Regions from separate parts of the Homo sapiens genome. Here regions 1, 2 and 4 are each linked to region 3. The links are contacts of gene promoters, found by promoter capture Hi-C in blood cells and fetal thymus (Javierre and others, 2016). All regions are on one chromosome and are shown on one strand. The core of a region is centred on a gene start or on the middle of the fragment in contact, and the rest is flanking DNA. Distances in the headings are between cores, read along the strand shown. Region 1 overlaps PDPR (pyruvate dehydrogenase phosphatase regulatory subunit). Region 2 overlaps PDPR (pyruvate dehydrogenase phosphatase regulatory subunit). Region 3 holds the start of NPIPB15 (nuclear pore complex interacting protein family member B15). Region 4 overlaps PDPR (pyruvate dehydrogenase phosphatase regulatory subunit).

Region 1 (5,093 bases), core at 130-2,629, 4.2 Mb after region 3:
CAAAAAGTATACAGACTTTAAATTCAGAGAAGCTAAATCCACTTCAAACATATCCTAATGCTTACTAGATAAGGAAAGCATTATTCTGGACACCAGTGTTTGTGACATCAGCTTGTGCTAATTACATGTCATCCATCCTAAGACAGGCTAGAACATGACTTTTGTTCAGTAACATTCTGTAGTATCCCAATCCAGGAGCAGGACGTATATCATATTTGCTACTACAAGGAATTGAGAATGAGAGCCTGGGAGAGCAAACGCTGGTGGGGCCAAGGGGCAAGATCAGTTAGGTGGGAAGGTGGGAGGGGTTAAGCCGAGACTGCTGAGAGTGAGAAAATCAGGGAACCAAGTCATCCTTAAAAATTAGGTACTCTCTGGGACTGGGCGTGGTGGCTCATGCCTGTAATCCCAGCACTTTGGGAGGCCGAAGCAGGTGGATCACGAGGTCAAGAGTTCAAGACCAGCCTGGCCAACATGGTGAAACCCCATCTCTACTAAAAATACAGAAATTAGCCCGGCGTGGTGGCGGGCGCCTATAATCCCAGCTACTTGGGAGGCTGAGGCAGAAGAATCGCTTGAACCCGGGAGGTGGAGGTGCAATGGCATGATCTTGGCTCACTGCAACCTCTGCCTCCCAGATTCAAGCGATTCTCCTGCTTCAGCCTCATGAGTAGCTGGGACTACAGGCATGCACCACCATGTCCAGCTAATTTTTGTATTTTTAGTAGAGATGGGGTTTCACCATGTTGGCCAGGCTGGTCTCAAATTCCTGACCTCATGATCCGCCCGCCTCAGCCTCCCAAAGTGCTGGGATTACAGGTGTAAGCCACTGTGTCCAGCCCTCAATTTTCTTTTTTTTTTTGAGATGGAGTCTCACTCGCCTAGGCTGGAGTGCAGTGGTGCAATCTGGGGCTCACTGCAACCTCTGCCTCCTGGGTTCAAGTGATTCTCCTGCCTCAGCCTCCCAAGTAGCTGGGATTACAGGTGTGTGCCACCACGCCCAGCTAATTTTTGTATTTCTAGTAGAGACGGGGTTTCACCATATAGTCCAGGTTGGTCTCGAACTCCTGACCTAGTGATCCTCCAACCTCGGCCTCCAAAAGTGCTGGGATTACAGGTGTCAGCCACCGCATCCCCTAGAGATCAATTTTCTATGACCAGAGAGCCTCTTTTATGCTAACTCTAATGTTCATTTTTGAGAGTCAAATGTAAAGAAGGCAAACGTGGACACATCTGCATCTGCTGGCCTTTTCGACGTGGCAGAGCCCGAACCCCCGTACCTGTGTACTTCCAGGTGACGTCCTCCAGGAGCAGGTTGCTGTCTTTCGGCATGTGTTTCTTAAGCCAGGCCCAACAGTGGACCTGCTGGTCGGTTGGAGAGATCATGAAGAAACTGAAAAGTGAGACCCCAAAATAATCAAAACCAGGTAGCAGCAAAAGGATCAGGAAGCAATCAAATCTTATTTGGTTTCAAAGCAATGAGGCAAATACTAGGAAATGATTTCTTAGCTTTCACAGAAGGCCAGTAGCACCATTCTAGGATACACCACCTAACAACAAAACAAAATTCTGGCTTCCTGTTAATGCCAAGAAATTATACAGATTTACTAACGTTAAGACATCGGCTGGGCACAGTGGCTCACACCTGTAATCCCAGCACTTTGGAGGCCAAGGTGGGCAGATTGCTTGAGCTCAGGTGTTCAAGATCAGCCTGGGCAATGTGGCAAAACCCTATCTCTACAAAATATACAAAAACTGGCTGGGTGTGGTGGCGTGTACCTGTGGTCCCAGCTACCTGGAAAGCTGAGGTGGGAGGATCACTTGAGCCCAGGAGGTCCAGGCTGCAGGGATCCATGATCGCATCACTGCACTCCAGCCTGGGTAACAAAGTGAGACCCTGTCTCAAAAAAAAAAAAAAGAAAAAAGACAAGGCATCTTCTCCCAGTAGGGTACATAATCTGGTGGGCTTTTTTTTCTTTTCCTCCTGGTGATTTCTTTTGTTTAGGACTGCTAATAAACTGGCTTTGATTTCATGTAATGATTCTTAGACTCTGGGATTTATGGTTCCCGGAGAAGCGCCTGAGAGCCTCTGCTACAGCACCCCTAAGGAATCAACATGTTGGAGGGAGCAGAGCGGGACGGCAGCTCATCTCACCTGCGCTTGTTCAGTCGTGCTATGCTGCAGTCATTTTCATACCCTCCACCCTCGTTGAGCATGCCAGTATGCACAATGTGGCCCACAGGCACATCCAGGTCATTGGAGAAGAGGTACTGTAGAACTTCTAATGCCTGATCCCCAGTGGACTGCAGGGTTAGGGAATGAAACAGAGAGAGTGAGCGTGAGAGCACCTGGCTGGGCCACATGGCCCCACCAGCAATGAACCTCATTGAGAAAATTCAATCAGCCAATTCCCATGTGACAACATTTGCAGACCTACTCCACTGCAAGAAGCTCCAGGGAACGCTAGCTATTGATTCTTATGATAAACAGGCCTCTCTAGCAAATTAAAAACCTGAAACAAGGAGCTAAAATTTCAGAAAAATGTTACAATACAGATGAAACACTAAAATATACCAGAATTCTTAAGAAATCAGTGTTTTGTTTTTGTTTTTTGTTTTTTTTTTTGAGATGGAGTCTCACTCTGTTGCCCAGGCTGAGTGCAGTGGCGCAATCTCAGCTCACTGCAACCTCCACCTCATGAGTTCACGCGATTCTCCTGCCTCCCGAGTAGCTGGGATTACAAGTGCCCGCCACCATGCCTGGTTAATTTTTTGTATTTTTGGTAGAGACGGTTTCGCCATGTTGGCCAGGCTGGTCTTGAACTCCTGATCTCAGGTGATCCACCCGTCTCGGCCTCCCAAACTGCTGGGATTACAGGCATGAGCCACCACTCCTGGCCTTAATTTTTGTATTTTTAGTAGAAACGGGGTTTCACCATCTTGGCCAGGCTGGTCTGGAACTCTGACCTCAGGTGATCCACGCCCCCTTGGCCTCCCAAAGTGCTGGGAATACAGGCATGACCCACTGCACCCAGTCAGGAATCAGTTTTGAAGATGAAAAACAAAAGGCATTCAATAAATATGTAAAGTTTCCTAATCTATTACTTTTTGGTTCCCAAATACTTACTGTTATCTCAAACTTTGTGAAAGAGGACATGTCAATGACACACACAGCTTCCTTACAGCACTTGACTTCAGACTCCACGATGTCAAACCAATCTGGCTTATAGAAAGTCTTGCTCTGCTCCAATGCCAGGAGGTCTACGGAATGGAAAAATCACAAGGCCCTGTAGAGTTTAGTGTAGTCCACGTGGTTCTTTTTCTTCTGTGAACACATTCTAGCCTATGCATTTGAAAATATGTTTTATTAATTCCCAGGACAAAAAAAAAAAAAAGAAGCAAAAATGAGAATGTGACTTCTTACCCTTGTCGGGGGGAACAAAGTACTTTGGCCTCTCAAATCCATGTTTCTCCATCCACCTGGCTCCCTGTGCATCCAGCCGGTCGTAGAGAGGAGAGGTGCGTAACTGCCTACCGGTCTGGAAGTCCCAGCGGGGAACCTTCAGATCATACATCAAAGCTAGAAAAGACACGAGTAGTCTATCAAAGCCCAAGACACAGATTCTAGACCTGAGTAGCCCATGTCCACTAGACTCTGGAGTTGTTTCTATTCAAAAGAGCTTTCCAGGCTAACGTAGTTTTTTTTTTTTTTTAAGACGGAGTTTTGCTCTTGTTGTCCAGGCTGGAGTGCAGTGGCACAATCTCGGCTTACTGCAACCTCTGCCTCCTGGGTTTAAGCGATTCTCCTGCCTCAGCCTCCCGAGTAGCTGGGATTACAGGCACGTGTCACCGTGCCACACTAATTTTTGTATTTTTAGTAGAGACAGGGTTTCTCCATGTTGGTCAGGCTGGTCTCAAACTCCTGACCTCAGGTGATCTGCCCGCCCCAGCCTCCCGAAGTGCTGGGATTACAGGCGTGAGCCACTCTGCCCGGCCCAATTTCCAGGCTAATGTAGTCTAATTTTCAAAATTACCCAGTGTATCAGGCATGCTCCAGAAGGAAAAGACAATCCTGCCAAGCTGCTATCGTCCCTCCCTGGAGCTACGTGTCACGGCATGACTCGGCCTGTATTCACATTCAGCATTCCACATTAGTAGGTAGAAATGATGGCAGAAAGGTCAGGGTCCTAAACCTTACCAAGCTTCATAGCAGAGAAGAAGGTTACTAAGTGGGACACAGGTGGTAACAAAATGTGAAAAAATGGCATTCGATTCTTCATTGTGCCTGTGTTAGGATCTCAGACCTGTTACAGACATTTCCTCCCTGATAATTAACTCACTTCTGAAGTGAAAGGGTACATATTGCAGCTTGATTAGGTGGCTCTGAAATCTGAGAAGTTATATTGTATTGTACCAATGACATTATTCACACAACAAAGCTAGGGTCAGAATTCATTTCTCTTAGGCCGGGTGTGGTGGCTCACGTCTGTAAACCCAGCACTGAGAGGTCGAGGTGGGCGGATCACGAGGTCAGGAGTTCAAGATCAGCCTGACCAATGTGGTGAAACCCTGTCTCTACTAAAAATACATAAATTAGCCAGGCATGGTGGCAGGCGCCTGTAATCCCAGCTACTCGGGAGGCTGAGGCAGGAGAATTGTTTGAACCCAGGAGGCAGAGGTTGCAGTGAGCCGAAATCACGCCACGGCACTCCAGCCTGGGCAATAGAGCAAGACTGTCTCGGAAAAAAAAAAAATTCATTTCCCTTAAGGTCTAATCTTCAACAGCAATAAGTAAAAAAAGCCAGAAGAGTGTGATCTGTGGTCCCTGATCTCACACCATCCCAAACAAAAGGCACATCAAGGCTTGGGGAGGTTGGGAGACAGGAGAAGGAAGCCAGGTGGGGTTCTCTGCATGGTGACAATCTCTCCATCTCCTAGTACTTTCGGTTCTATCATCCCCTCCCCCATTTTCTTTTCTATTTTTTTTTTATTTTTTGTTGAGATGGAATCCCTCTCTATCACCCAGGCTAGAGTGCAGTGGTGAGATCTTGGCTCACTGCAACCTCCATCTCCCGGGTTCAAGTGATTGTCCT
Region 2 (5,655 bases), core at 2,959-5,458, 4.3 Mb after region 3:
GTAGTCCCACCTACTCGGGAGGCTGAAGCAGGAGGATCACATGAACCCAGGAGGCGAAGGTTGCAGTGAGCCAAGATTGTGCCATTGCACTCCAGCCTGGGCGAAAAGAGTGAAGCTCTGTCTCCAAAAAAGGGGCATTAATTAGCACTAAAAGCAGTTCTTTAGAACTTTAAAAATGTGGCCCTGAGGGAAAACACTCATTAACAGATAAATAAAATTATAAGTGTTCAAAATGGAGGCTGAGTACCCCAAAGAGGATAATCTTTCCAAACTTGAGTTGGTGTCACTTCCTATTGTGAGACACTTCCTTAGGTAATGTCTTCCCTGCTAACCTATCTTAAGAAAATGCAAAAACCTGCTCACCATTTTGGGAGGCAGCACTTGCCAGGGCAAGAGCCACGTCAGCGGAAGACACCACTGCATCCTCGGGAACATGCATGGCCCCCACCAGGTCGTGCACGTTGAGGAGATGGTGAAGCTCGGCCACTTTCTTGGGGGAGATGATCTCAGAAGGGATACCTATAACACTGCCACAGAACACAAGGGACAATGACATTCACAGGCTCTTTGGCAGAGGCCAGTGTGGTAAAGTCAGGACACGCTTCTAGACTCTTACGTACTTCAGCCCTGCGTTGATGCGCTTCAGGGAGATCAGTCGGTCCTGAGTTTGGGCCAGAAAGATTGAGCCTGTCCTTGTGTAACCTGTAAGAAAAATGAGCCCAAATGAGACAGATCAGACCAAATGTAGGACAGGAGAGTGGAAAATCCACTAGATTATAGGTTAGAAGACCTGTGATGAATCCTGGGACTGCCACTCAATATCCTTGGGCAGGTAAATCAGCTTCTCTGAGCTTCTATGCAAAATTTTAAGAACTTCAGATGCACTAAGGCTCCATGCCCTGACCAAACATTCTCAGCTCACAGTTTTGTGAGGTTGTGAGGATCAAATGAGATTCTAGGCCAGGTGTAGTGGCTCATGCTTGTAATCGCAGCACTTTGGGAGGCTGAGGGGGGCGGATCATCTGAGGTCAGTAGTTTGAGACCAGCCTGGCCAGCATGGTGAAACCCTGTCTCTACTAAAAATATAAAAATTAGCCAGGTGTGGTGGTGCACGCCTGTAATCCCAGCTACCGGGAAGGCTGAGGCAGGAGAATTGCTTGAACCCAGGAGGTGGAGGTTGCAGTGGGTCAAAATTGCACCACTGCACTCTAGCCTGGGTAACAGAGTGAGACTTTGTCTTTAAAAAAAAGAAAAAAAAAAAAGACAGTTTTGGGCAGGGATTCGACCATCCCTATTCTTCCCACCTTTTAGGCAGTTTCACCCTTTCTCCTCCTAGTCTTGGGGGAGTGTAATCCCTGGCAAAGGCCACTCACAATAACATCAGCTACCAAGGGTCGGATTCTCCCTTCTTCTTCCCCAGTATAGCCAAACAGTGGGCATGTGACCTAAGCTTATCCAATCAGACCCTCCTGGAAGAGTCAGTCTTGAGCACGTAGGTGAATGACTAGAGGTCACCATCTCAAGGGCAGCATCAGCCACGCCAGGCTGCTCCTGTTCTCGCTGAGGGACTGCCTGCGGTGCAGTCCCCACATCCTGGCTTCCAGGCTGCCTCCAGCTGGCAGCCTCCTGCCAACTCCACAGGCCCAAGCTCCTCCCAACAAGCTCCAAGTTGGCCAGAGCCAATTCCTGTTGTCTGTAATCAACACACCTGATATAGAACCATAATTACACTTGGGCCAATGACAATTCTCCTAAAATGCAATGACTCTTAATTCTTATGAAGAAAGAGTTGAAGCAATTTGGTATCTTATTTTCAAAAGAAGTACAGTAAGGATAATTTACATATTTTCTTAATTTCTTAGTAGAGACGGGGTTTCACCATGTTAGCCAGGATGGTCTCGATCTCCTGACCTCGTGATCCGCCTGCCTCGGCCTCCCAAAGTGCTGGGATTACAGGCGTGAGCCACCATGCCCGGCCAACCCAAGTTTTAATTACCAAAGCAGCAGGCACACCTGGCAGAGGACCAAATACAGAAATGAATATAACAATCTCAGGGACAGGCAAAGCAATAAATGGAAGACACTTGCTTACCTGTTTGGATCCCTGTTTCTTGCTCTAACTGATAGTAGAGTTTGTTTGAGTAGTCTGCCATCTTCTGCTCAATGGTCAAGTGCCTGGCAGTGCTCAGGATGCCAGCACAGAACCTGGTAGAGCCAGCAGCCAGCCTGCAGGATGGATGCAAAATGCTATTAGGTAGATTGACGTCATCTGTGAATACGAGGTCAGGGTTTCTCATTTAATACTGTTTCTAACACCAAAAGATGGAAACAAGCTGGGCACAGTGGCTCACACTTATAATCCCAGCACTTTAGGAGGCCAAGGTAGGAGGACTGAGGACTGCTTGAGGACAGGGGTTTACGACCAGCCTGGTCAACACAGGGAGAACCCATCTCTACCAACAACAACAACAAAATTAGCCAGGCATGGTAGCACATGCCTGCAGTCCCAGCTACTTGGGAGGCTAAGGCCAGAGGAGCGCTTGAGTTCAAAAGGTAGAGGTTGCAGTGAGCTGTGATCACATCTCTGCACTCCAGCTTGGGCAACAGGGTGAGAAAAATGTTCAATGACATGGGACAGATTTAAAATTCTGGATAGTTTAGGCCAGGCACAGTGGCTCATGCCTGTAATCCCAGCACTTTGACAGGCTGAGGTAGCAGGTTCACTGGAGGCCAGGAGTTCAAGACTGGCCTGGGCAACATAGCCAGACTGTGTCTCTACCAAAAAAAGATAAAAATAAAAATAAATAAACAAATAAAAATAAAGGCTGAGTGCGGTGGCTCACGCCTGTAATCCCAGCACTTTGGGAGGCTGAGGTGGGCGGATCACAAGGTCAGGAGATCGAAACCATCTTGGCTAACACAGTGAAACCCCGTCTCTACAAAAAATACAAAAAATTAGCCAGGCATTGTGGCAGGCGCCTGTAGTCCCAGCTACTCGGGAGGCTGAGGAAGGAGAATGGCATGAACCCGGGAGGTGGAGCTTGCAGTGAGTCAAGACTGTGCCACGGCGTTCCAGCCTGGGTGACAGAGCGAGACTCCGCCTCAAAAAAAAGTAAAAAAAATAAAGATAAAAGTTAGCCAGGCTACTTGGGAAGCTGAGGCAAGAAGATCCCTTGATCCCAAAAGTTTGCGGCTGCAGTGAGCTAGCATTGTGCCACTACACTTCAGACTAAGCAATAGAGCAAGACCCCATCTCTAAAATAAAATAAAATTTTGGAATTCATCTATACAATGGAATATTATGCAGCTATAAAAAAGAATGAAAAGGTCTTTATGTACCAAAATGGAACAATCATAATGAAAAAGCAAGGTGAAGAACAGTGTGTAAGGTATGCTCCCACTTATATAAAAAAGAGAAAAAATATAATAAATGAATATCCATACACATATACACAAACCTACCAACACATAATTGCTTATAGAAGTAGAGAATATAACTAGAACTTAACTTCCCTCCAGAGAGAAAGCTTTTTGTTAGAAGTGAAGATTGAGGGCTGGGTGCAGTGGTTCACATCTATAATCCCAGCACTTTGGGAGGCTGAGGCAGGCAGATCACTTGAGGTCAGGCGTTCGAGACCAGCCTGGCCAACATGGCGAAACCCCATCTCTACTAAAAATACAAAAATCAGCCGGGCATGGTGGCAGGCGTCTGTAATCCCAGCTATTCAGAAGGCTGAGGCAGGAGGATCGCCTGAACCCAGGAGGCAGAGGTTGCAGGAGCTGAGGCTGCACCACTGCACTACAGCCTGGGTGACAGAGCAAGACTCCATCTTAAAAAAAAAAAGAAAGAAAAGGAAAGAACATTGGGGAGTCTTTTTCCTGTATACTCTTTTACATATATATATATATACTTTTTTTTTTTTTTTTTTTTTTGAGACGCAGTTTCCCTTGTCACCCAGGCTGGAGTGCAATGGCACAATCTCGGCTTACTGCAACCTCTGCCTCCTGGGTTCAAGCTATTCTCCTGCCTCAGTCTCCCGAGTAGCAGGGATTACAGGTGTGTGTCACCATGCCCAGCTAATTTTTGTTTTTTTGTTTGTTTGTTTTTTTAGAGACGGAGTTTTGCTCGTCACTCAGATTGGAGTGCAATGGCACAATCTCGGCTCACCGCAACCTCCACCTCCCAGGTTCAAGCAATTCTCTTGCCTCAACCTCCCAAGTAGCTAGGATTACAGGTGTGCACCACCATGCCTGGCTAAATTTGTATTTTTAGTAGAGATGGGGTTTTGCCATGTTGGCCAGGCTGGTTTCGAATTCCTGACCTTAGATGATCCACCCGCCTCAGCCTCCCAAAGTGCTGGGATTACCGGCATAAGCCACTGCACCCAGCTTCTTTTACATATTTTCAATTTTGAATCATATAAATACATTGCCTATTCAAAAGTACATAAACTTTACATTGAAAAAAATGTTCTCTAATTTGTGGTAGCAACAGAATATAAAGGCTACAGTAATGCTAGGGCCCAAAGACCCAGTTTTGCAAGGGACCCATATGTCAAGAAAGCAGGTGGGGGGTTCTAAGGTCATTTTCCCCAAATTATTTATCACTCAGTAAATAAACTAACATCTGTGTCAGCATGCCTGTCACTTGAGTTTACTGTATTTACTCTAATAATTATATTTTCCACATAAGATTGTCAGCTCCCTAAAGAGATTTTTCTATCATCTTTGTAACTGTGTGGAGCTCCACCCCAGGTGGGAGTTCCATTAACTGGCTGGTGGTCAGCACCTATAGCTCTGGTGACGTCTCTGCTGGGATAGCACTCCTTGAGCAGCTTTGACAGTGGCTCTCGCCCTTGGAGGTACATTAGAGTCCCCGGGGAAGCTTTTAAAAATATTGATGCCTGGCCTCACCCCTAGAGATTCTGGTTTGTTCTGGGGAGAGGTCTGGGCACTGGTAATTGTTAAAAGCTCCCCAGCTGATTCTAATGTGCAGACAGATTTAAGACCCATTGATCTATGAGAACAATAGTGAAGATGGACAAGAGGAATAATTATACATAAAGGGCAGTATAAAACCATTTCACAAGCCACGGATAAGGCATAATAATAACTATTATTTTTTGAGACAGTCTCACTCTGTTGCCCAGGCTGGAGGGCAGTGGCACAAACTTGGCTCACTGCAATCTCTGCCTCCCAGGTTCAAGCAATTCTCCTGCCTCAGCCTCCTGAGTAGCTACAATTACAGGCTTATGCCACCACGCCCAGCTAATTTTTGCATTTTTAGTAGAGACGGGGTTTCCCCATGTTGGGCAGGCTGGTCTTGAACTCCCGACCTCAGGTGATCCACCCACCTTGGCCTCCCAAAGTCGTGGGATAACAGGCATGAGCCACTGCACTTGGCCGAGGCATAATTTTTTTTTTTTTTTTTGAGACTGAGTCTTGCTCTGTCGCCCAGGCTGGGGTGCAATGGTGCGATCTTGGCTCACTGCATCCTCCGCCTCCTGGATTCAAGTGATTTTCCTACCTCAGCCTCCCGAGTAGCTGAGATTAACAGACGCGAATAACCACTCCCAGTTAATTTCTGTATTTTTTAGTAGAGACGGCGTTTCACCATGTTGGCCAAGCTGGTCTCGAACTCCTGATCTCCGGTGA
Region 3 (5,211 bases), core at 130-2,629:
GGTTCAAATTAAGTTCTCAAGCGCTGGTGGAAGGTTTAGCTACAGGTCACGGAGAAGATCAGGGAAGCAACAGGACACGTGGGGCAAGGGAGCGTGAGGCTTAGGAGCAATTAGAGGGAGACAAAAAGGTTCTGCTATCCACCAAACCTTCTTCGGTCTGGGCCCTCCCTTAGCAACCCTGGGGCTTTATACTCCCTCTCCACCAATCCCTGATGACCCCGGTGGTGCCTCACAATGGACAATGCCAAGTAGCGCCCGCATCATTCCAATGACCCCTCCCCCATCTCAGTCTCCCACACTCCTCGCAAGGACAGGTCCTCTCTGGAACCTTCACAAACCTGATTTCTGGTCCTCCCCAACCAGCTCCCTGTCCCTGCTTCTGGGCTCTCCTTCCTTCCTGAGCTCCCAGGGTTCCTCAAGGTCACTTTTGGCGACAAAACATAAAAAACAAATGATGGCAGGATGGCAGGAAGAACTTCATACCCAAGCAGAGTGCCAGGTTTTACAGCCTCCGCTCAGCCATTCATATCCTAAGCAACAAAACATCAGCAGGATGCGGAAGGTCCCGATAGTAAACCATCTCCATCACATCCATGTAGCCATCCGTCCATCAACCTGTATCTCAGGAACAAATGTAGATACATTCATTTTAAGCATGCATGGTACATTTACAAAAATTAACCTGACTTATTTTGTTCCAGCAAATCTCAATATATTTGAGAGCAATCAAATCACACAGCATGTTTCTGATCATATAACTGTGCTAGAAGTCAATGATTAAAAGCTAATTCAAAATTATTATTTGCTTGGAAATTCAAAGTGCCCTTATAAGACATAAACATAAGAAAGAATCCAAAATGAAACAAGATTGCCTTTCAACTCAATGATGAGATCATAACATGGCAATAAAATGTCTCCCCCTGGCCTGGGAATTCCTCTTTGTGGCACAAGGTTGTGTGATCTCAAATCACCCCTAACCCACCTAGACATTTTAACATCTGAAACCGAGTGATGATGTCCTTATCTATAATCATCTTACTGCCTGTGTGTGTGGACTTTAAATTCTGAACCCAAATGAGGGGGAGAAAACCAAGTTGACCTTCATCATTGACCTCTCAGGGACGTCCAAGGAATCTGTGCATTTCAAGAAACAAAGTTCATCAGCTTCTCTCCTAAGGTATTTGCCCACAATACCCAGAGGGCTTGGCAGCATCATGTGTGATGGGTGGGGAGCTCCAAGCAGGTGGGCAGGACCCAGGGGTCTGGTGACCAGGACAGACCCCCACTGTCCATCACCTTTCCTGGCCCTGTCCTCAGCTGAACTTCCCACAGGCCTTCTGCCCGATCACACAGAGTGTGCCCAAACTCACTCAGGCCTCTGGCAGCTGAAAACCACTGCTTTAAATCCCTTTACCATTTACTATGACATAAGGTTATTGTAAACAGGAAATATTCTATTGATGCTACAAATGGAAAGCCAATGCCTTTACCATAAATAGAAAAACAACCCTAAGAAACAAGCAAAACAAAAACAAAACAGGGGCTGGGTGTGGTGGCTCACGCCTGTAATCCCAGCACTTTGGGAGGCCGAGGTGGGTGGATCACAAGGTCAGGAGTTCCAGACCAGCCTGGCCAATATGGTGAAACCCTGTCTCTAATAAAATACAAAAATTAGCCGGGTGTGGTGGTGGGCGCCTTAGTCCCACCTACTTGGGAGGCTGAGGCAGGAGAATAGTTTGAACCCGGGAGGCAGAGTCTGCAGTGAGCCGAGATTGCACCACTGCACTCCAGCCTAGGCGACAGAGCGAGACTCAGTCTCAAAAACAGCAACAACTACAAACAAACAAAAAACAGGGTTAACAAAACTATGGAATTCAATTCTATTTATATGCTGCAGCCATGTTCCAGCCCTAGATTTGGCTGGGCATGGTGGCTCACGCCTGTAATCCCAGCACTTTGGGAGGCTGAGGCAGGCGGATCACGAGGTTAGGAGTTCGAGATCAGCCTGACCAACATGGTGAAACCCCGTCTCTACTAAAAATACAAAAATTAGCCAGGCACGGTGGCACCCGCCTGTAATCCCAGCTACTCAGGAGGCTGAGGCAGGACAATCCCTTGAACCCAGGAGGTGGAGGTTGCAGTGAGCCGAGATCGTGCCATTGCACTCCAGCCTGGGTGACAGAATGGAATGAGACTCTGTCTCAAAAAAAAAGAAGCCCTCGGATTTCGGTTGTGTTGGTTGTAAAAGGAGAGACCAAGTAAGTGGGGGTTGAAGTCAGATTAGACCAAAAGTGAATGGCAGAGAGTACTATAATGTCCATGAAGGGTTGCTAGAGTCACCGTGATCATAGCCCAAGCAGAGACAGGGAAAGGAAGATGTGAGCAGAGTTTGGGGCCTCAAACATTGGAGGTTACTCGTGCAGCCCAGGAAAGGCTCCCCAAAGCCAGGATCAACCTCCCTTGCAGGCGGTCCCTCATGGAGGCATGGCCAGGCACCTTAGATTTGAGACCAGCTGTGTTGCTGCTGACCAGCTGTGTGACCCTGGGCTGGTTTCCTTGCGTACAATGGGAGTGCCAATGGCTGCATGCATGCAAAGACCATCTGAGGATAGGAGGAAGCAATCTGTTGAGCACCCGTGTACCTGAGTGTCATCACCTCCCAAAGGCATCCTTCGTTCCAGAGCTGGCACCTTGGAAGGCCCTTGGTTACTAAATGCAGTGATGATGGTAACAGCAGTAAATCATCATTTACGGCTGATGACGGAAGGCCAGGGGGTAGGGCTCCTAGGTCCTGGATAAGAATGAGGGTCTGGGCACTTCTGGGGACAGCTGAGTGGTAGAACTCCTGGGTCTCCAGGGGGCAGGTCCATCTTCAGTGGCATTGGGCCTAGGCTGGGATGCTGAGTTATCCACTGGAGCATCAGCAGTACAGGCAGGCACAGAGGCAGTGGATCCATCGGAGGTGGCAGGTGTAGGATCATCTGGTGAGCAAGTAGAGTCACCAAGCCTGGCTTCTAGATATAAGAGAAGTTCCTGGGCCGGGTGCCACGGCTCAAGCCTGTAATCCCAGCACTTTGGGAGGCCGAGGCGGGTGGATCACGAGGTCAGGAGATCGAGACCATCCTGGCTAACACGGTGAAACCCCGTCTCTACTAAAACTACAGAAAAATTAGCCGGGCGTGGTAGCAGGCACCTGTAGTCGTAGCTACTCGGCAGGCTGAGGCAGGAGAATGGCGTGAACTCGGGAAGCGGAGCTGGCAGTGAGCCGAGATTGCGCCACTGCACTCCAGCCTGGGCGACAGAGGGAGACTCCGTTTCAAAAAAAAAAAAAAAAAAAAAAAACCAAAACAAAACCAAAAAAAGAATGTTCCAGAAAATTGCCATTTATTTATCTAATAGGTACTGTTAAGCTAGAATATTTGAATTTTGAAGAAAATAGTAGCCGAGCATGGTGGTGGGCACCCATGATTCCAGCTCCTTGGGAGGCTAAAGCAGAAGCATCACTTGACCCCAGGAATTCAAGACCAGCATGGGCAACATAGCGAGACCCTGTCTTTAAAAACTTTTTTTTTTTTTTTTGAGACAGAGTTAGCTCTTGTTGCCCAGGTTGGAATGCAGTGGCGTGATCTCAGTTCTGATCTCAGAGGCGGGCGGATCACAAGGTTTGGAGTTCGAGACCAGCCTGACCAATATGGTGAAACCCAGTCTCTACTAAACATACAAAAATTAGCGGGGCATGGTGGTGCATGCCTGTAATCCCAGCTACTCAGGAGGCTGAGGCAGGAGAATCACTTCAACCCGGGAGGCGGAGGTTGCAGTGAGCCAAGATCGCACCACTGCACTCCAGCCTGGGCGACAGACTGAGGCTCCATCTCAAAAAAAAAAAAAGATTGTTCTCGAAGTCAGGGCTGACAACCCTCTCAACCACAGCAGCGGTGGTAGGGACAGAGAGGTCCGAACAGAGGAGAGGCACTGAGGAGACAGACCCTTTGAGGCTGGGTGATGAGCAGGAGGTGGAGGGAGAGGCGAGTGGGGAGACCAGGTGAGTCCCAGGTTTCTGGTGTGGTTGGCCATTCCTGGAACTGGAAATAGAAGGGGCTGATTGAGAAGACAGGATGAAGACACTGTTGTAGACGTGAGCCTACGGGGTTCCCAGATGTAGCTGCTCCAGAATTAGTTGGATAAGCAGAATAAGACCATTGACTTGCAAGACTGCAGTGAGTGAAGATTTCCTTAAGAAGGCGTAGGCCCTGATTTCACCATTCTTATATAATTGCACTATCAGACAGCCTTTATTTGAGCTGCAAAAAAGGCTACCTAGTAAACCAGCCCAAAACTCAGTGCCTTACAACAAAGCATTCAGTGCCATGCTCATGAGACTGTAGGTGACTATGGTCTAGCTGGACAGCTGTGTTTCAAACTGAGAGTCAGTAGGCTTGGACAGCTTTGTTTCAAACTGAGGGTCAGCAGGCTTGGACAGCTTTGTTTCAGGCTGAGGGTCAGCAGGCTTGGCTTCAGGCTGAGTTCAGGTCTGTTTCAAGTGCCTTTCACTTTCCATGATCCAACAGCTACTCAGGGCATAAACTTGTGACAAGGGCTGATGACATGCTCAACACCTCTTAAGGCCAATCTCCAGATCTGTACACTATGGCTTCTACCCACCTTAAAAAATAAGTTTGGTTGGCCAGGTGCAATGGCTCACGCCTGTAATCCCAGCACGTTGGGAGGCCAAGGCGGGCGGATCACAAGGTCAAGAGATTGAGGCCATCCTGGCCAACATGGTGAAACCCTGTCTCAACTAAAAAAAATTTATATATACAAAAATTAGCTGGGTGTGGTGGCGTGCTCCTGTAGTACCAGCTAATCGGGAGGCTGAGGCAGAAGAATTGCTTGAACCCAGGAGGCAGAGGTTGCAGTGAGCCGAGATCGTGCCACTGCACTCCAGCCTAGCGACAGAGCAAGACTCCATCTCAAAATAATAATAATAATGTTTGACTGAAGCCAACCAACATCAGTGGGACAGGAATCCTACTCCCCCCATTTCGTGCACTGCAAGGTCACATGGCAATAGGGAATGAGGAATTGAAAACAACATCCCATCTACCATAGCTAGCTGCGTTCCTTCCTGTTACACTGCCTGCTTTTTTCTGTCTCTGTATCCAGCCCTTACATCACCCAGTCTCAGATGCTTTCCTGGCCACCTGTCCTATG
Region 4 (5,691 bases), core at 1,953-4,452, 4.2 Mb after region 3:
GGTTTCTCCATGTTGGTCAGGCTGGTCTCGAATTCCCAACCTCAGGTGATCCGCCCGCCTCGGCATTCCAAAGTGCTGGGATTACAGGTGTGAGCCACCGCACCTGGCCTAAAATCCTTAAATCTTAAAAGACATTTTAAAGATTTTGCCCTCCACTTTTTGCCCATTCATTTAATCATCTGTTAAACACCAAACACCATGTGAGGTGTTGGAGTTTGGGAGAATTCGAGTCTTTCTCCGAGGGACTTACAGAAGGAGCAGGGCAGATAACCAAATAAAGACACATCAGAAACGGGTGTGTGAGGACCCCAAAGGGGCCATTCTCTTGGGGAAGGAAAGGCTCCACTGTGGGATGATGGTGGTCTTGGGCAGAGCTTTTGAAAGACAGGAGGGGCCAGGCACTGTGGCTCACACCTGTAATCCCAGCACTTTGGGAGGCTGAGGTGGGTTGATCACCTGAGGTCAGGAGTTCGAGACCAGCCTGACCAATGACCACCATAGTGAAACCTCGTCTCTACTAAAAATACAAAATTAGCCAGGCATGGTGGCGCATGCCTGTTATCCCAGCTACTCAGGAGGCTGAGGCAGAATTGCTTGAACCTGGGAGGCGGAGGTTGTGGTGAGCCGAGATCTCGCCACTGCACTCCAGCAGCCTAAGCAAGAAGAACAAAACTCCGTCTCAATCAATCAATCAAATGAAAGACAGGAGGTCTCTGTCAGGACAACTTGGGGGAGTGGGGGTCCATGTGATCCTCAATTTGCGACTTTCCACAAGCACAGGGGAGGGCTGCCAGGAGGCATTTTAGTGAGCAAATATGGGAGTGGGAGACCTCTCAGTGTGACTGGAAAGCAGGATTCGAGGTGAGATCCAGCTGTGGATGGCGAGCACGCACTCGGCTGCAGGACCCACATCACACGCAGCGCAGGCCGGAGCCCTGGGGCAGCGTGGCCTGCCACACCCTGGAGACCCTGGCTGGCCAGGCTAAGGACTGAGAGCTTTGTCTCACGACAAAGGGGAGTCCCTTGAGGGTTTCAAGGCAGTGAGTAAATTGACCTCCCCTGTTTTACAAAGACAACCCTGCAGAGGGAGGGGGGATGACATGAGAAGCAGGAAAATCAGTAAGAGATTGTTCTCGAAGTCAGGGCTGACAACCCTCTCTGCCACAGCAGCAGTGGTGGGGACAGTGAGGTCCGAACAGAGGAGAGGCACTGAGGAGACAGCCCTGTGAGGCTGGGTAATGAGCGGGAGGTGTAGGGAGAGGCGAGTGGGGAGACCAGGTGAGTCCCAGGTTTCTGGCGTGGTTGACTATTCCTGGAACTGGAATAGAAGGGGCTGATTTAGAAGACAAGATGAAGAGATTGTTGTAAACATGTTAACCTATGAGATTCTCAAAAGTACAAATACTTAAAAAAAAAAAAACTACTCAAAAATTACTTTGGGCCAGGCACAGTGGCTCACGCCTGTAATCCCAGCACTTTGGGAGGCCAAGGTGGGTGGATCACTTGAGGTTGGGGGTTTGAGACCAGCCTGGCCAACCTGGCGAAACCCCGTCTCTACGAAAATACAAAAATTAGCTGGGCATGGTGGCGCGTGCCTGTAATCCCAGCTACTCTGGAGGCTAAGGCAGGAAATCACTTGAACCTGGGAGTGGAGGTTGCAGTAAGCCAAGATCACACCACTGTACTCCAGCCTGGGCAAAAGAGCAAGACTCTGCCTCAAAAAAAAAAATTAGTGAACAGGTCAAGTCCAGGGACCAACTTGTGGATGGAAGCTGGTGTAGAAAAAGAGCACTGGTTGTTTCTCTCAGGGTTGTTTCCACAGGGTGAGAACACGACCCCCCTTGCTTTCCACACAAACCTGAGTGCACACGTGCCCGTGTGGAACATCAGGTGGCAGGTTCCTCCTGAGGTCAGCTGTAGGCAGAAGGCCGGTCGGAATTTCAGGAGGCGGGAAGCTTTTACCCCCAGCCACTCCAGCGCTGCAGGGAGGGTAAGATAAACACCTACATCTTCTCTACCCCCGTCCCCAAATCCTCCCTCACACTGGTACACACAGGGAGGTACACACTCTCCTCTGCACGCTGTTTATGCTTTGTGGTGGCAAACACATTTAAGTCACTACAGATGAAGAACATTTCACAAGCAGCCGTGCAAGAGTAGTTAAAATGTGTTTATTCATTTACAAACCCAGTAACATGAGAAGAAACTCAGTGGAAACCTTGCTTGGTGGAGACAGTGCACAGTGTTAGTGCCACATTCACAGGGGCAGAAATGCTCGGTCACCCTGTGCACCCAAAGTCACCCAGGATCTCTAGAAAAGATCCCACTTACTGAAGTGCCTCGGATGTCTTCAGGGCCAGATTGTAACTACACAGGAACAGGGAAGGGCTAAGCTGAACTGCAAATTGACAAACACAAACGATGAGTCACAGGACTCTACAGTAGTTACAATGGCATTTTTATATGTCCCAAGTGTTGACTGGAGAGTAAAGTGTTAACTGAGCTGCTAGAACACCCTTCACTGAAAGAGCTTTCTACCCCACGCCCATTGTTCCGAAGAAGGAGAGGCTATGTGGGGCGGATGGGAACCCACACACCGAGATGAACTTTTCTCTTTCTTCCAATCTGCACCCACCATCTGACATTCTGGAGTGTAAGGCACTAGAACCTGGCTTAGAGAATAGTGGGGCTCTAAGCTCCAGTTCTTGGTGTGCAAAGGAAATTCTGACATACATCTTTTGAAAGAGATGCTAAAAAACCCTCCCTATCTCCTGTAATTTCTGTCTTTGACAGACAGGAAAATAAGAAGGCAGAAGATGGTCTGCAAAGGATAAAAACAGGTGCATCTAAGAATGAGAAAAATGGCTCATGAAGAAATGTGTAACTCTCCAAGAGATGCAGACACTCTGCTCAGAGAAGTCAAGAACCATAAACAACTCTTCATGTTTCATGGACAAAGGGAAGGCAAAGGCATACAAAAATACTCAGTTGTCTTGAAAAGTGTACTGGTAGTGATCAGGGCTACAAAGGCGAGCCCTGTACTGACAATGGAGGAGCCTTACAACTCAGCACCTTAAATTGTTGGCCTGAAGTGGTGGCGGGGAGGGAGGCGCTGACGGAGAGACCCATGGCTCACCACTTATTGCGTGTACACAAGGCCTGGGGCAAGCCTCACAAGTCTACCATTTCTTCCACTCAACTGTGCTTCTCCTGAATCCATGTGCCTGAAATGACATATGCAAGGTGAACATTCTTTATACTGTGTTAATACTGCTTATATCAATGTTCGTGAGGGGTGTGTGGGGGATGGGGTGCAGCAGGAAAATTAGAATGGCAGGAGGTTCTTATTTATTATTAAGCACTGTTGACCAAACCTCTATCTTAGATTTTTTTTTTTTTTTTTTTGAGACAAGAGTCTCACTCTGTTACCCAGGCTGGAGTGCAGTGGTGCAATCTCAGCTCACTGCAACCTCTGCCTCCTGGGTTCAAGCAATTCTCCCACCTCACTGGGCCTCCCAAAGTGCTGGGATTACAGGAGTAAGCGACCACGCCCGGCCAACCAAACCTCTATCTTAGATGTTAAAGAAGACCCTTATTGACTACACTGGCCAAGAAGCAACAGAGATATAAAGCTGAATCTTGTAGCTAACCCCTGAAAGCAAGCCAACGCAAATTCCTCCGCCAGGCCAGTCTTCTAGTGCCAATATGGAGACTGTGGGCCACAGAAGATTCCCTTCTATTTCAGGTTCTCAAAAAGTGGTGTAGACTCAGGCAAATGCCAGGAAATGTGTCCATATGCCAGAGGAGACACAGAGCCAGAAATGAAGGCTATGGGTCCTGTCTTCAGTGAAACACTGAACGCTCTCGGAAAGCTCCCATCATTCTTGCATCGCTACTGCCACCAAGACGGTGGCAAGGGAGGAGGCTAACTTTCAAATGCATGCAACGGCAGGTAATATACTGTGGAAGCTGGAGGTTTACTTTTCATGTTTTAGTTACTTTCTTGCAAACAGCAGTCCAGGAAAGCAAGCAAGCAGGTAAAACTCCGGGTGTGCATGAGGAGATGATCCAAGGCCAGTGGGCCTCCCAGTGAGAACCAAACAGGAGTGGCCAGGCTCCACTCCTGGGGCCAGAGTGAAACCGGGGTTTAATCACTGGGCTATGTGGTCTCTGTGTCTCTGGCCTGAATGAGATCTCTTCAATGTCGGGGGACAGGGATCCCTGGAAGAGCGTGAAAAATACAGTGGTCACTGTGCAGTTCTCTCTGCTGGAGCCTGTCCTGCCATCATACAAGGTGCTGTGACAGCAATGCAAGGTGAAAGGAGATCAAATGGCCCAGCTCAGCAGTTAGTGTTTGTCCCTTTTTGCTCTTCAGAGTTCCTGAATGAGAGCTTTTCTGGCTTCAGTACCAATGATCACAGAAGGAACATCTTCCTGATGCAAGCTTAGATGGAAGTCAATGACCCTGGCAGTGCTAAGAACAGAAGTCACACGTGGCCTGACGATGAAGGGGAGGTAATTAAAGACATTTCAAGGGAGGGGAAGGCCCACGGAAAACTGGCAACCCTGGGTCTCCGTTTGAGGCCAATATACTTTGTGTTCCTAGGTTCAGATGGCATACACCGACAAGAGAAGGCAGAGACCATCCTTCGTGGTGAGCACAAAATGCTATGACAGGTAATTGCAGAGAGAAAAAAGCACCCAACTCTGTAAAGCCAAGTCCAGTCACCCATTCACAAGAGTCCAAAATCCTTCAAATCTCTAGGGACAGAAGACAAACGTGCTGCCCAGAATGAGCTGAGACACAAGGCAAACCCTTGGAAATGACACATGGATGAGGAGGCTGTGGTTGTCCCTCCTTATTCCTGCTGGATTTGCAGCCACGGCTCTGGATCTGGGGCATCTACTGGCCTCCCCTGTTCACTCAAGAGGCCACTGCCTCTCAGGAGTCCAGAATGCTCTGATATCTGACACCGGTGGTCAGGAAGTTATGCTGCCCTCTCCTCTTGAACAGCTAAGATGCTTGGACACTAGACAGAGGCAAAGCAGTTATGCCAGAAGCAGGGGAGAGTCATTCACTGTCAGATCTGTCTGTTCAAAGAGCTCACATTAGACCAATCACAGAAAACCACCAGACTCACACAGCTTGTATTTGAATGAACCAGGAGAGACTTCAAGGATCAACTCTAAAGTGCTAGAAGAGAAATCTGTGTTTGGGGCACTGAATAAACAAGTGATGTCCTAGAAGATCAACACCCCATCAGTCTTAGGAGTATGACCCTATTCATGGACAAGGGGTTTCAATGGACAGCCTGAGTGCTCAGCCCCCCATCCTCCTCTCCTAGCAAGACAAGCAGTCTGTTGCTCAGAGGGGGAAACTGATGTCATTTAACAGGAGGTCAGGATTTCTGGTTCTACTTCAACAAACAGTGCATAATTTTGGACACAGCATCAGATTTCCTGACTTCTTACAAAGGACAGCTAATTAAAAACGTGTCAATCTGTAGTAATTAGTTGGAGATTAACAAGGGCAGAAGAGAATCCAAGTCTTAAAACTCTATGTGGGATACATTTCTGATGAAGCTTCTATTTGACTAATATACTGTGATGATGGCACTATTCGATTTTAAACTATGGAGACAGCTTTTATTATTTCGATTTGGATCCTGGTAAGTGGTGATACTGCTATGT

Evidence for each region. The method cuts DNA at HindIII sites, captures the fragments that hold promoters and counts their contacts. A CHiCAGO score of 5 or more calls a contact.
Region 1: a fragment that was not itself captured here is called in contact with the fragment with the promoter of NPIPB15 in region 3 in 5 of 17 cell types (M1 macrophages, total CD4 T cells, naive CD4 T cells and 2 more); the score reaches 17.7 in M1 macrophages.
Region 2: a fragment that was not itself captured here is called in contact with the fragment with the promoter of NPIPB15 in region 3 in 11 of 17 cell types (M1 macrophages, total CD8 T cells, M2 macrophages and 8 more); the score reaches 22.1 in M1 macrophages.
Region 4: a contact is called between a fragment that was not itself captured here and the fragment with the promoter of NPIPB15 in region 3, in 16 of 17 cell types (M1 macrophages, total CD4 T cells, non-activated CD4 T cells and 13 more). The highest score is 222.3, in M1 macrophages.

The regions. Positions count from the first base shown.
Region 1 is chr16:70,140,721-70,145,813 of GRCh38, reverse strand. PDPR (pyruvate dehydrogenase phosphatase regulatory subunit) reads right to left here. Exons shown (of 19, transcript NM_017990.5): 12 at 3,425-3,580; 13 at 3,128-3,261; 14 at 2,156-2,304; 15 at 1,281-1,393. Among named protein-coding and RNA genes, the nearest start is that of PDPR, 29 kb to the right of the region's middle. The HindIII fragment of the contact is 5,651 bases long and covers 1-4,204 here.
Region 2 is chr16:70,123,831-70,129,485 of GRCh38, reverse strand. It overlaps PDPR (pyruvate dehydrogenase phosphatase regulatory subunit), which reads right to left. Exons shown (of 19, transcript NM_017990.5): 4 at 2,093-2,226; 5 at 621-702; 6 at 364-527. Among named protein-coding and RNA genes, the nearest start is that of PDPR, 12 kb to the right of the region's middle. The HindIII fragment of the contact is 1,358 bases long and covers 3,530-4,887 here.
Region 3 is chr16:74,372,474-74,377,684 of GRCh38, reverse strand. NPIPB15 (nuclear pore complex interacting protein family member B15) reads right to left here and starts at 1,379. Exons shown (of 8, transcript NM_001306094.2): 1 at 339-1,379. The HindIII fragment of the contact is 9,807 bases long and covers 1-5,211 here.
Region 4 is chr16:70,158,996-70,164,686 of GRCh38, reverse strand. PDPR (pyruvate dehydrogenase phosphatase regulatory subunit) reads right to left here. Exons shown (of 19, transcript NM_017990.5): 19 at 2,150-5,691. All of the region lies in intron 1 of LOC400541 (a long non-coding RNA gene), which reads left to right. Among named protein-coding and RNA genes, the nearest start is that of CLEC18C, 12 kb to the left of the region's middle. The HindIII fragment of the contact is 2,489 bases long and covers 1,958-4,446 here.